2 separate regions of the Homo sapiens genome follow, and region 2 is linked to region 1. The links are contacts of gene promoters, found by promoter capture Hi-C in blood cells and fetal thymus (Javierre and others, 2016). All regions are on one chromosome and are shown on one strand. The core of a region is centred on a gene start or on the middle of the fragment in contact, and the rest is flanking DNA. Distances in the headings are between cores, read along the strand shown. Region 1 holds the start of DUSP1 (dual specificity phosphatase 1). Region 2 overlaps STK10 (serine/threonine kinase 10).

What was found. The method cuts DNA at HindIII sites, captures the fragments that hold promoters and counts their contacts. A CHiCAGO score of 5 or more calls a contact.
Region 2: a fragment that was not itself captured here is called in contact with the fragment with the promoter of DUSP1 in region 1 in 1 of 17 cell types (naive CD8 T cells); the score reaches 6.0 in naive CD8 T cells.

What each region holds. Positions count from the first base shown.
Region 1 is chr5:172,768,559-172,772,444 of GRCh38, forward strand. It overlaps DUSP1 (dual specificity phosphatase 1), which reads right to left and starts at 2,637. Exons shown (of 4, transcript NM_004417.4): 1 at 2,028-2,637; 2 at 1,603-1,748; 3 at 1,017-1,236; 4 at 1-574. The coding sequence starts at 2,394. The coding sequence ends at 204. It overlaps LOC105377730 (a long non-coding RNA gene), which reads left to right and starts at 3,653. Exons shown (of 3, transcript NR_188285.1): 1 at 3,653-3,886. RefSeq lists silencers at 1,985-2,094, 2,635-3,084 and enhancers at 2,124-2,885, 2,195-2,464, 2,886-3,647, 3,112-3,886, 3,648-3,886 and 1 more. The HindIII fragment of the contact is 7,766 bases long and covers 1,267-3,886 here.
Region 2 is chr5:172,107,152-172,113,602 of GRCh38, forward strand. It overlaps STK10 (serine/threonine kinase 10), which reads right to left. Exons shown (of 19, transcript NM_005990.4): 5 at 629-701. Among named protein-coding and RNA genes, the nearest start is that of STK10, 78 kb to the right of the region's middle. RefSeq lists an enhancer at 3,937-4,406. The HindIII fragment of the contact is 9,126 bases long and covers 1-6,451 here.

The DNA of each region.
Region 1 (3,886 bases), core at 1,387-3,886:
ATATTGGTCCCGAATGTGCTGAGTTCAGCAAATGTCTTGACGCTAAGTCATCACCATAACTGCTTAGAAACCCAGAGGAACTCGGGTGAAGTTAAATAAATAAGGACCAGCCCTCTCGAGCCCCTCCCAGAGTTATTGCATTTCTCCTCTCAAGGAGCATGGAGTCCCAATGGGATGTGAAGAGCCTCACCTCCCGTGGCCTTTCAGCAGCTGGGAGAGGTCGTAATGGGGCTCTGAAGGTAGCTCAGCGCACTGTTCGTGGAGTGGACAGGGATGGAGACGGGGAAGTTGAACACGGTGGTGGTGGAGGTGCCTCGGTCGAGCACAGCCATGGCGGGGCTCCCAGCCTCTGCCGAACAGTGCGGAGCCAGCACCTGGGACTCAAACTGCAGCAGCTGGCCCATGAAGCTGAAGTTGGGAGAGATGATGCTTCGCCTCTGCTTCACAAACTCAAAGGCCTCGTCCAGCTTGACTCGATTAGTCCTCATAAGGTAAGCAAGGCAGATGGTGGCTGACCGGGAAATGCCTGCCTGGCAGTGGACAAACACCCTTCCTCCAGCATTCTTGATGGAGTCTGGAAAACCAAAGGAGCGGCTGGTTACTTGAGAGTTCAGGAGAACCACCCCAAGCCCAGGTACAGTGTATCTGAGAAAGGTCATGTGTGTCTTGTCTAGAAATGGTCAACATCACCACATGCCATCACATGGATACTGTTCATGGAGGCAACGTGGGCACTGTGCAAAGGATGGCACAGGATTTAAACTCAGACTGGGGATTTCCACTTAGCAGATAGATCTCAGACCAGTCAATTCAACTTTGTGAGCCCCACTTTGCAAATCTGTAAAGTGGGACATCGAATCAAATTCATATTTTACAGGAATGTTGCCCACACCAGACTGATACTGAATGTGTGGAAGAAGGCTCAGAAAACTTCAAGCTCTTGCCACAGAGGTTGGGCTTAGTGGCTAAAATGAGAAGAGAAAGGCAGAAAAGCCCCAGGCATCCATTCCATTTACCTATGAAGTCAATGGCCTCGTTGAACCAGGAGCTGATGTCTGCCTTGTGGTTGTCCTCCACAGGGATGCTCTTGTACTGGTAGTGACCCTCAAAATGGTTGGGACAATTGGCTGAGACGTTGATCAAGGCAGTGATGCCCAAGGCATCCAGCATGTCCTTGCGGGAAGCGTGATACGCACTGCCCAGGTACAGAAAGGGCAGGATTTCCACCGGGCCACCCTGAAATCCAGAAATATCCAACATTCATCAAGCTTGCTCAAAGCCAAGGCCAGTGCCCATACCCACAAAAACTTTCTGCTGGAAAAGTCAATTTCAGATACCGAGTGAACTCAGTTCTGTTGCTGGAGGATAAATAAATAGGGAACTAAGCCCATTTGCCTGGGCAGGACCAGCAAGTTCATTTCCGTAGAGCCTACAATTGGAGACTCGGCTCCGTCAGACCACTTAACTGTGGAATAAATCATATCCCTGTGTCCCCTCCGTTATAAATAATGCTGCAGGTCACTTTCTATATTCTCCCTGGCACTACTCTTCCATGCCTTTGCCAGTTCTTACTTCTTCCCTGTGGCAGGGACACCTACTAACCTGATCGTAGAGTGGGGTACTGCAGGAACTGCACCCAGATTCCGCGCTGTCAGGGACGCTAGTACTCAGGGGAAGGCTGAGCCCCATGGGGGTCGACTGTTTGCTGCACAGCTCCGGGCAGGAAGCCGAAAACGCTTCGTATCCTCCTGGGAATACAAAGACATTTTTTTTCCCCATTAGTGACACCGGGACACGGCACCTTCATACAACTCCCCCACCCACCAAGGGCTGGAAGTTTACATCGGAAAGGCCCAGGCAAGTCTTTGTTTCCAGAGCCAAACAAAGCCAATGACAAGTTCCAGAGATAAATGTACTCCAGCGCCCACGCGCTGCAGGTGGGGCGATCCCCCGGGAGCCGAGAGCCAGGGGTACCGGGCAAAACCTCAGGGGTGTGCGGCCCGCCCCGAGCTTCCCCGAGGGCGTACCTTTGAGGAAGAAGACTTGCGCGGCGCGCGCCTCGCGGCAGAGCGCGCCGGCCGCCAGGGCCAGGGTGCCGTCGCGCTTGGCGCCGTCCAGGGCGGCGCTGCGCTCGTCCAGCAACACCACGGCGTGGTAGGCGCCGGCCAGCAGGCGGCCGCGGAGCTCGGCGTTGGGCACGATGTGCTCCAGGCCCATGGCGCCCTTGGCCCGGCGCCGCACGATGGTGCTGAAGCGCACGTTGACAGAGCCGGCGATGTGGCCGGCGTTGAAAGCGAAGAAGGAGCGGCAGTCCAGCAGCAGGCATTGCGCCGCTCGCTCCCCCAGCAGCGCCCGCAGGCCTCCAGCGTCCAGGGTGCCCACTTCCATGACCATGGCCGGCCTCAGCGCCCCCAGCGTGATCGGCCCTGCGGTGCTCTTTGTCTGTTCTCGGGGCCAAGGGCAGGGCGGCGCTTTTCGAGGAAAAGCTAGACCCCCGGGTCTCTCTGCGCCGAACCAAAAGCCGCTTTTGGACTGAGAGAGGAGCGTCACGCGGGGCTCCGGGCTCCTCGGCTTCTTCGCGGTTCCCCCGACTGCCCCTCCGACCCGCGTCGCACACACAGCCCAAATGTCCTTCGCAGCGAGCCTGGCCCGGGGAGCGCGTTTATATGCGGCCTCTGGGGGACGGGGCGGGCCAGACCCGCGCGCAGGGGGAGGGGGGGTGTTTGTTTGAATGGTGATCACGTGACGGGGCGGTGACGTCACCCGCCCTGCCAGGCCAGGCGCCGCCGAGCCAGAGGGGGAGACGTCATCAGCCTCGGAGCTGGGTCCGCTCGCCGCGCGCTGGCTCGCGGCCCGGCCCCCGCCCTGCTGTCCGGCCTGCTCTTGGCGCGTCCCCAGGGACCGGACCCGCGCCGCGCTCCAGGCCCAGCGGGGAGGAGGAGGGCTCGCTGCCAGCTGAGGCTGACCTCCGGGATGCGAGCGGCCGGGAGAACGGGCGACGTGCCACCTGCCTTGGCCTCGCCGCTCCTCCCTCTCTCCCTCCCCGAGTCCCCTTCCCCGTGCCCCTCGGCCGCCGACCTGAACCGAAAGGGGCTTCCTGTGCTTTTGCATACTCTTGTGCCCCTTTTCCTCATTTCCTCATCACTAACAGGCGGGGAAACTGAGGTTCCCCAGGCGAAGCGACTGACTTGCCCAGAACCACACTACTGGGGTGGGGGCAGCAAATAGGCGCCTAAGATGAAGTTTAGAGAAAAATGAACAACTCTGCCGATAGAAAAGTCGTCCCTACCAAGACCGACTCGAGCGAGTTGGGGCGGAGAGGTTCAGGGCAATGCTTTCCTGTTTCCCAGACTTTTCTTTAAGGTGGCTTTAAAATATCTACATTTGCCATGAAAGTGTGAGCAAGCAAACTCCCACCGGGAAATAATGCTATTCCTAGTCTTGTGGCCCCCGGAAGACTTGGAGCCAAGGGAGGCAGGTCAGGGGGCTGAAATCCCGGTGAGGGGTCGCAAGGCCCCGCAGTGGATTCCAGGGTTTGGCGTTTGGAGGGGTGAGGGGCGACCCGCAGCGCGACTCGACGGCGCCCCCCAGGGGCCGCCCGACACGTTTCTGTCACCTTGGCTCCAGACTGAGCTTCTCCATCCCTTTCTTTATTATACAAATAGGCAGTATACACAGTGAGCGCCCACTAAGCGCTGGGCTGGGGGCCTCCAACCCGGAACAGAAGCCGGCCACAACCCTCGCTCCCTGTCGTCGCGGCCGTTATAGGCCGAAAGCAAAATCCAATCCCGGGCCATTGTGGGCGGATTGCCAGGACCTGGATCGCAACACTTGGGAAGACCCCCGCCCCGCCCAGCGATCTCCGTGCCCTGAGTCCCAGTGACGG
Region 2 (6,451 bases), core at 1,117-3,616, 660 kb before region 1:
ACACCAGCACAGAGAGGAGAAACAGGTATAAAAGGGGGGAGAGAGAGAGCAAGGGTGAGTAACAAGCAAGCAAGAAAGGAGCCCAAACTACACAATGGCAAGTAATGCACATGAAAAAATTGGAAACACGGCAAACAGAGAGTAGTCAGGCGTGAAATTGAGTGACAGTGTTTTGCTTTTAAAGTAATAGTTCTGGAAAAGAAGGAAACACGACAGACTACAGAAGTCCAGGGAGACTTCACATGACGGTAGGAATTGAACTTGTACTGTTCACCTTCACGGTCCCCATCCCCGGCCCTCAATACATACGTGGCGAATAAATCACGAACTGAATCCTGTTTTATGGATTCTAGTTCAGTTATTAATGGAGTGCCTTCTATGTGCACCATTTCATTTCATTCTCACAGTAGCCTTATTAAGTAGGGGCCATTATATCCCTAATTTTATGGATGAAGAAACTGACGCACGGGAAAGCTAAACAGCTTGTCCAAGGTCACACAGCTAGTAAGCCACGAGGCAGGGCGTGTAGCCCTTGTCTTCCGGCCCCTCTCTGTCTAAAGCGCCTGGTGGTCACCTTGGAGAGTTTTTACATCCAGTCCATTCCATTTCCAGAAGCTACACGACTCACCAGTAAGGCGTGCCGATGAAGGAATCTCGTTTCTGTAGAGTCTTCAGATTCTTGGCAGACACACCAAAGTCAGCTGCAAGACAAAATCTCAGCTAGCGTTTTCCACCCATAGCCCTGGGGTAAAAGCCGGGGATGTGGACTCAGGGGTACACATTCCAAGTCGACTAACAGATGCCATTTTCTATCTAGCAAATTAGAAAGCATTAAAAATGTAAGACTATCTGCTGCTGAGAGGAAGTACCGAGATGAACACTTTCCTCTCTACTAACGAGAGCCTGCACTGGCAGCAGCCTTCAGGAAAGCAATTTGGCAATAAATAGCAAGAACCTTTAAAATACCCATACCATTTTAATCCAGTAATTCCAAATCCAGGACTCTGCCCTAATGAAACAGTCTTAAATTTAAAAAAATGCATAATGATGTTAATCAAAATCCCATTATAATAACAGTGCCATTATAAAATTATAATAATAGTGACACACTGAAAACAACCATAATTGCTTGGCTATCAGGCAGTGATTTTAAAACTTTTTATATAGATTAAGAAAAATGGAGGCCAGGCAGGGTGGCTCACGCCTGTAATCCCAGTACTTTGGGAGGCTGAAACAGGCAGATCGCTTGAGGCTGGGAGTTGGAGATCAACCTGGCCAACGTGGCAAAACCCAGTCTCTACTAAAAATACAAAAATTAGCCAGGTGTGGTGGTGGACGCCTGTAATCCCAGATACTTGGGGGGCTGAGGCACAAAAATCGCTTGAACCCGGGAGGTGGAGGCTGCAGGGAGCTGCAATCGCACCACTGCGCTCCAGCCCAGGCAATAGAGTGAGACTGTCTCAAAAAAAAAAAAAAAAAAAAAATTAGCCAGGTGTGGTGGCATGTCCCTGCAGTCCCAATTACTTGGGAGGCTGAGGTGGGAGAATCACTTGAACCCAGGAGGCAGAGGCTGCAGTGAGCCAGGATTGTGCCACTGCACTCCAACCTGGGCGGTATTTATTACTATTTATTAATTTATTATTATTTTTTTGAGATGGAGTCTTGCTCTGTCACCCAGGCTGGAGTGCAGTGGCGCAATCTTGGCTCACTGTAACCTCCACCTCCCGGGTTCCAGCGATTCTTGTGCCTCAGCCTCCCAAGTAGATGACATTACAGGCATGTGCCGACATGCCCAGCTAATTTTTGTATTTTTAGTAGAGATGGAGTTTCACCACGTTGCCCAGGCTTGTCTTGAACTCCTAACCTCAGGTGGTCCACCAGCCTTGGCCTTCCAAAGTGCTGGGATTATAGGCGTGAGCCACTGCGCCCGGCCTTACTGATTACTATTTATATTACTGTAAAAGGTTAAGTGGGGAGAAGGGGGATACACAGTTGAATATACTGTCTGGTCAGAATCATGCCCCTCTCACTCCAAAAAGGGGAAAAATACACACTGAACTGACTTGGAGGAAATATACCACACTACTTAAATGGCTGTGTGTGGGTGGTGAGACTTCCACACCTTTGCTATGATAAAGTGTATTATTTGCAGGACTAGCAAAAATAAATGAACACTTTTTTTTTTTTTTCATGACAGAGTCCACTCTGTCACCCAAGCTGGAGTGCAGTGGCACAATCATGGCTCACTGCAGCCTCAACCTCCCAGGCTCAAGCAATCCTCCCGAGTAGCTGAGACTACAGGTGTATGCCACCACACCCGGCTAATTTTTGTATTTTTTGTAGAGATGGAGTCTCTATGTTGCCCAGGCTGGTCTTGAACCCTGGGCTCAAGCAATCCTCCTGCCTTGGCCTCCGAAAGTGCTAGGATTACAGGCGTGAGGCACCAGGACCGGCCAATAAGATGTATCTTTACATGCATTCCAACACTCTCAGTCTTTCCTCACACACCCGCTGCTAAGAGAAGAATTCAGCGCTACCAAGAGAAATTTTCTCCAGGGCTCCTGCCTTCTGTGGTGAAGTTTCATCTTGACTGAAAAATAGATTCAGGATGAAACAACACTTTGAGAGAACCCGGGATGCTCCATTTGAAACTCCCTGAATGGAATTTATGAGGGGTGTCCCCTGCTAGATGATGGCTGCCTTTGGACGATTCATCCCAAGAAGCTGCAGCATTATGACAACTTCAGGCCACCCCGGGCACCAGTGCCTGGTCTTGAAATGAGCTGTATCCAGGAGCTCCTTTCAGACTTGCAACGTGAAACAAGGAGGCAGCACAATGCCAAGAGGCTGGGCCTGAATACGGGAGAACTTGGTTCCAGCCTCTGCTCTTCTGCTTCACTGTCCACTCACCCATTCATTCAGGTGCTCACCAGGCTCCATCAGGAGCGAGACACTAGCCGGGATCAGAGAATACAATGAGGACCCTCGGGGAATCCACAGTTTAGTTGGGGGAGCAGAGAGTAAGCAAATAAACAAACATCTACTCCTAACATGGAAAGTGTTGGGAAGACAGGACCGGGGCTACTCAAGAGTGCACAGTAGGGGGTGTGACCTCGAGGGGACGGTCATGGAGGGAGGGCTGGGGGCTTTGGAGGAAGGACAGTTTTATTCAGCATACACTAACTGCACATCTATTATGTGCCCGACACTGTTCTAGGCACAGAGATGAAAGCAACCAAGTCCTGCCTGACATGCCACATGTTATTCCCGTGGTGGCGACAGGCACCTGGCAAAACCCCCGGAATGCCTGGCAGCGAGAAGGGCCCAGGGCTGAGAAGGCAGGGAGAAGAACACAGTGCTGGGGTGCAGGGTGGGGAGCTACTTTAGACACAAACTCAGGATCTGGGGGAGGTATTTCCAGGCAGAGAAAACTGCAAACAGACTGGGAGGCAGGAAACAGCAGGCTGGAGGGACCAGCGGGGACAGGACACAGCCTGGCCGGAAGGAGGGGGCCGGGGGTGGAAGCAGATAAGGCAGGAGACGGGCAGGGCAGTTACAAAGCCTCTGAGCCTCAGTTTCCCCATCTGTGACACGGGGGTGATAGCACAGAACCATTGCGCAGGTTTTCCTGAGGATTAAATGACAAACGCAAAGCACTGTGATGCAAGGTCCACTCGTGGCAAAAGCGAGAAGATGGTGATTCTTTCACCGGCCCATGAGCCAGTCCAGCCTTTTTCAGGCTGGGGCAAGGCTGAGGCTGAACTAAGACCCCCCGGCACCTCCTGGGAGTGGTCAGGAAAGCTGGCTTCTGAGCCCCGGTTAGTGCTAACTGGACAGCAGTTGCTATATCAGGGGACAGTCTGGCCAGCAAGAGGGGACAGGGGGCCCTCAGCCTCCTGAAGTGGGACCAACAGGTGCTGCAAGTGAGGTGCAGAAGCAGGAAACCCAGGTAGAGCCTGGCTCTGCTGATGACTCTGGCAGGCGGCTCCCCTGGGCCTCCAGGGTAAGAATGGGAAGCTGGCCCCACCTTCCTGCTGGGTCAGCCAGGCCCCCCTGTGGGCCTGGCTCCCTCGCAAACACCACTAAGGGCTGGCACATCATCCCATCCCAGGAAACCTTTTGGGAACAGTGACTGCCTCTCAGGCCCAGGGTGAGGATCCCAAAAGGTGGCCACTCCCCGACCACAGGCCCTGCCGATCCCTTCCTGAGAAGAGAGACGAGAAACAGAAACCACCAACGTGCAATGACACACCGTAGGTCCCCAGGGCCTCCCTCAGGCACGCACCAGCCAGCTCTTTGGGTAGCTGCTACTTCCCCTTCTGCCCCACACGATGGGGCCCAGATGGGAGAGTGGGGCAGCCCCACCTTGCAGCCCAGAGAACTGAGCCTGTTTGCTCCCTCCGCAGAGTTTATAAGGGAGTGTCCCTTGATAGCTGATGGCTGCCCTTGAGCAATTCAAAAGGGATTTTCACCATGCAGTCTCTTCTGATGAAAACACTCCCCCTTCTCCTCCCATTTTAAAATGTATTAGAGACAAGGGCGGCGGAGATAAGGGAAATCTCCCTTTCTCCGCTGTAATTTCCATAAAGAAAGAGATCATTTCTGCTGTGGCCACAGTTGTATCCCTGGCACGTTATCTGGAGCAGGAAGCACTCAACAGGTTTATCGAATGAGCATGCTCATAAATAAATAAAGAGACAGAATTTGCTAAAATGCCTTTACTCATATATGTAAAAAATAAAACTGGGTTTTAAAAACTTGTTTGCCAGCAATTCTATTTGTAGAAATCCATCTCTAAAACCAGATCTATAATATATATGGATGCTTATAAAAGCAACAGCCAAAAAGAATGGAAAATTGGAAATCATCCAAAGTGTTGCTGGAGCTTCATTGCTGAATGGTTAGATAAGTTGTGGTTCACCCCAGCTATGAAATAACATGCAGCTCTTAAAAAGAATGAGGCTGTATTTGTATGGACTAACTTGGAAGTGTATCTCTAATACATTAATACATGTCCCAAACATGTTGCTGACTGACTGATGAGTCTTATAAAATGTGTAGCATGATTCCAGAAATGATCCAAGTGCAGGTACTCCAGTAGAAGATTATCTTTAAAGGAATAATATATGCATCTTGTGTGTACATGTCTGCACGCATGTGCATACACACACACACACACCGGTCTGGAAGTCTGCACATCAAACTTAATGTTCATCTCCCTGGAAGTGGGATTTTGGTGGGGGCAGTGCACAGAAGGGACCTTACTTTTTTTTTTTTTTTTTTTTTTTGAGACAGAGTCTCGCATGTCACCCAGGCTGGAGTGCAGTGGTGTGATCTTCGCTCACTGCAAGCTCCACCTCCTGGGTTCACGCCATTCTCCTGCCTCAGCCTCCCAAGTAGCTGGCACTACAGGCACCTGCCACCATGCCCGGCTAATTTTTTTTTTTTTAGTAGAGACGGGGTTTCACCATGTTAGCCAGGATGGTCTCGATCTCCTGACCTCATGATCCGCCCACCTCGGCCTCCCAAAGTGCTGGGATTACAGGTGTGAGCCACTGCACCCGGCCAGGACCCTACATTTTTCACTTTACACACTTTTATTCTTTTTTTTTCAGATGGAGTTTCATTCTTGTTGCCCAGGCTGGAGTGCAATGGCACGATCTCGGCTCACTGCAACCTCCACCTTCCGGGTTCAAGCAATTCTCCTGCCTCAGCCTCCCAAGCAGCTGGGATTACAGGCATGCGCCACCACGCCCGGCTAATTTTGTATTTTTAGTAGAGACGGGGGGTTTCATCATGTTGGTCAGGCTGGTCTCAAAATCCCGACCTCAGGTGATCCACCTGCCTCGGCCTCCCAAAGTGCTAGGATTACAGGCATGAGCCAACGCGCCCGACCCACTTTTGTTCTTTAAAATGTTTTTGATAGAGTGTATTGTTTCTATGGTTTAAAAAACTGAAATGCATATGTAGCAAAGTTTTTTGGTTTTGTGGGTTTTTTTGTTTTTTCTCTATTAAGTAAAACCCAGTAGGGGCCAGGATGTGGTGAAAAGAGAATTGCACACTGCACTGGGGGGGGTGTCAACTGGTATGACCAGCACGGAGGGCATGCCGGCTGCAGGATGAACAAAACCCCAACTCACTGCACACACCCAGCACTCTGCTTCTGAGAATTCCTCTTCAAGGTATGTTACAGAAAGAGACGCAAAGATCCATGAACAAGCACACTCATCACTGCATGATTTCGTAAAGATGATAAACCTCATGAGAAACCCAAGTATCCAATTCAGGGCTTTCCTCAGGGCTCTGATAGGTAAATTACATTTTGTGCCTGTGATGGGTACAAGAAAAACACGAAAATAATCATGTTTCTGAGGAATCTTTAAGGATATGGAGGAATACGCTGATATTCAATGTTAAAAACCAGACTAGGAAACTGTATATATATATAATA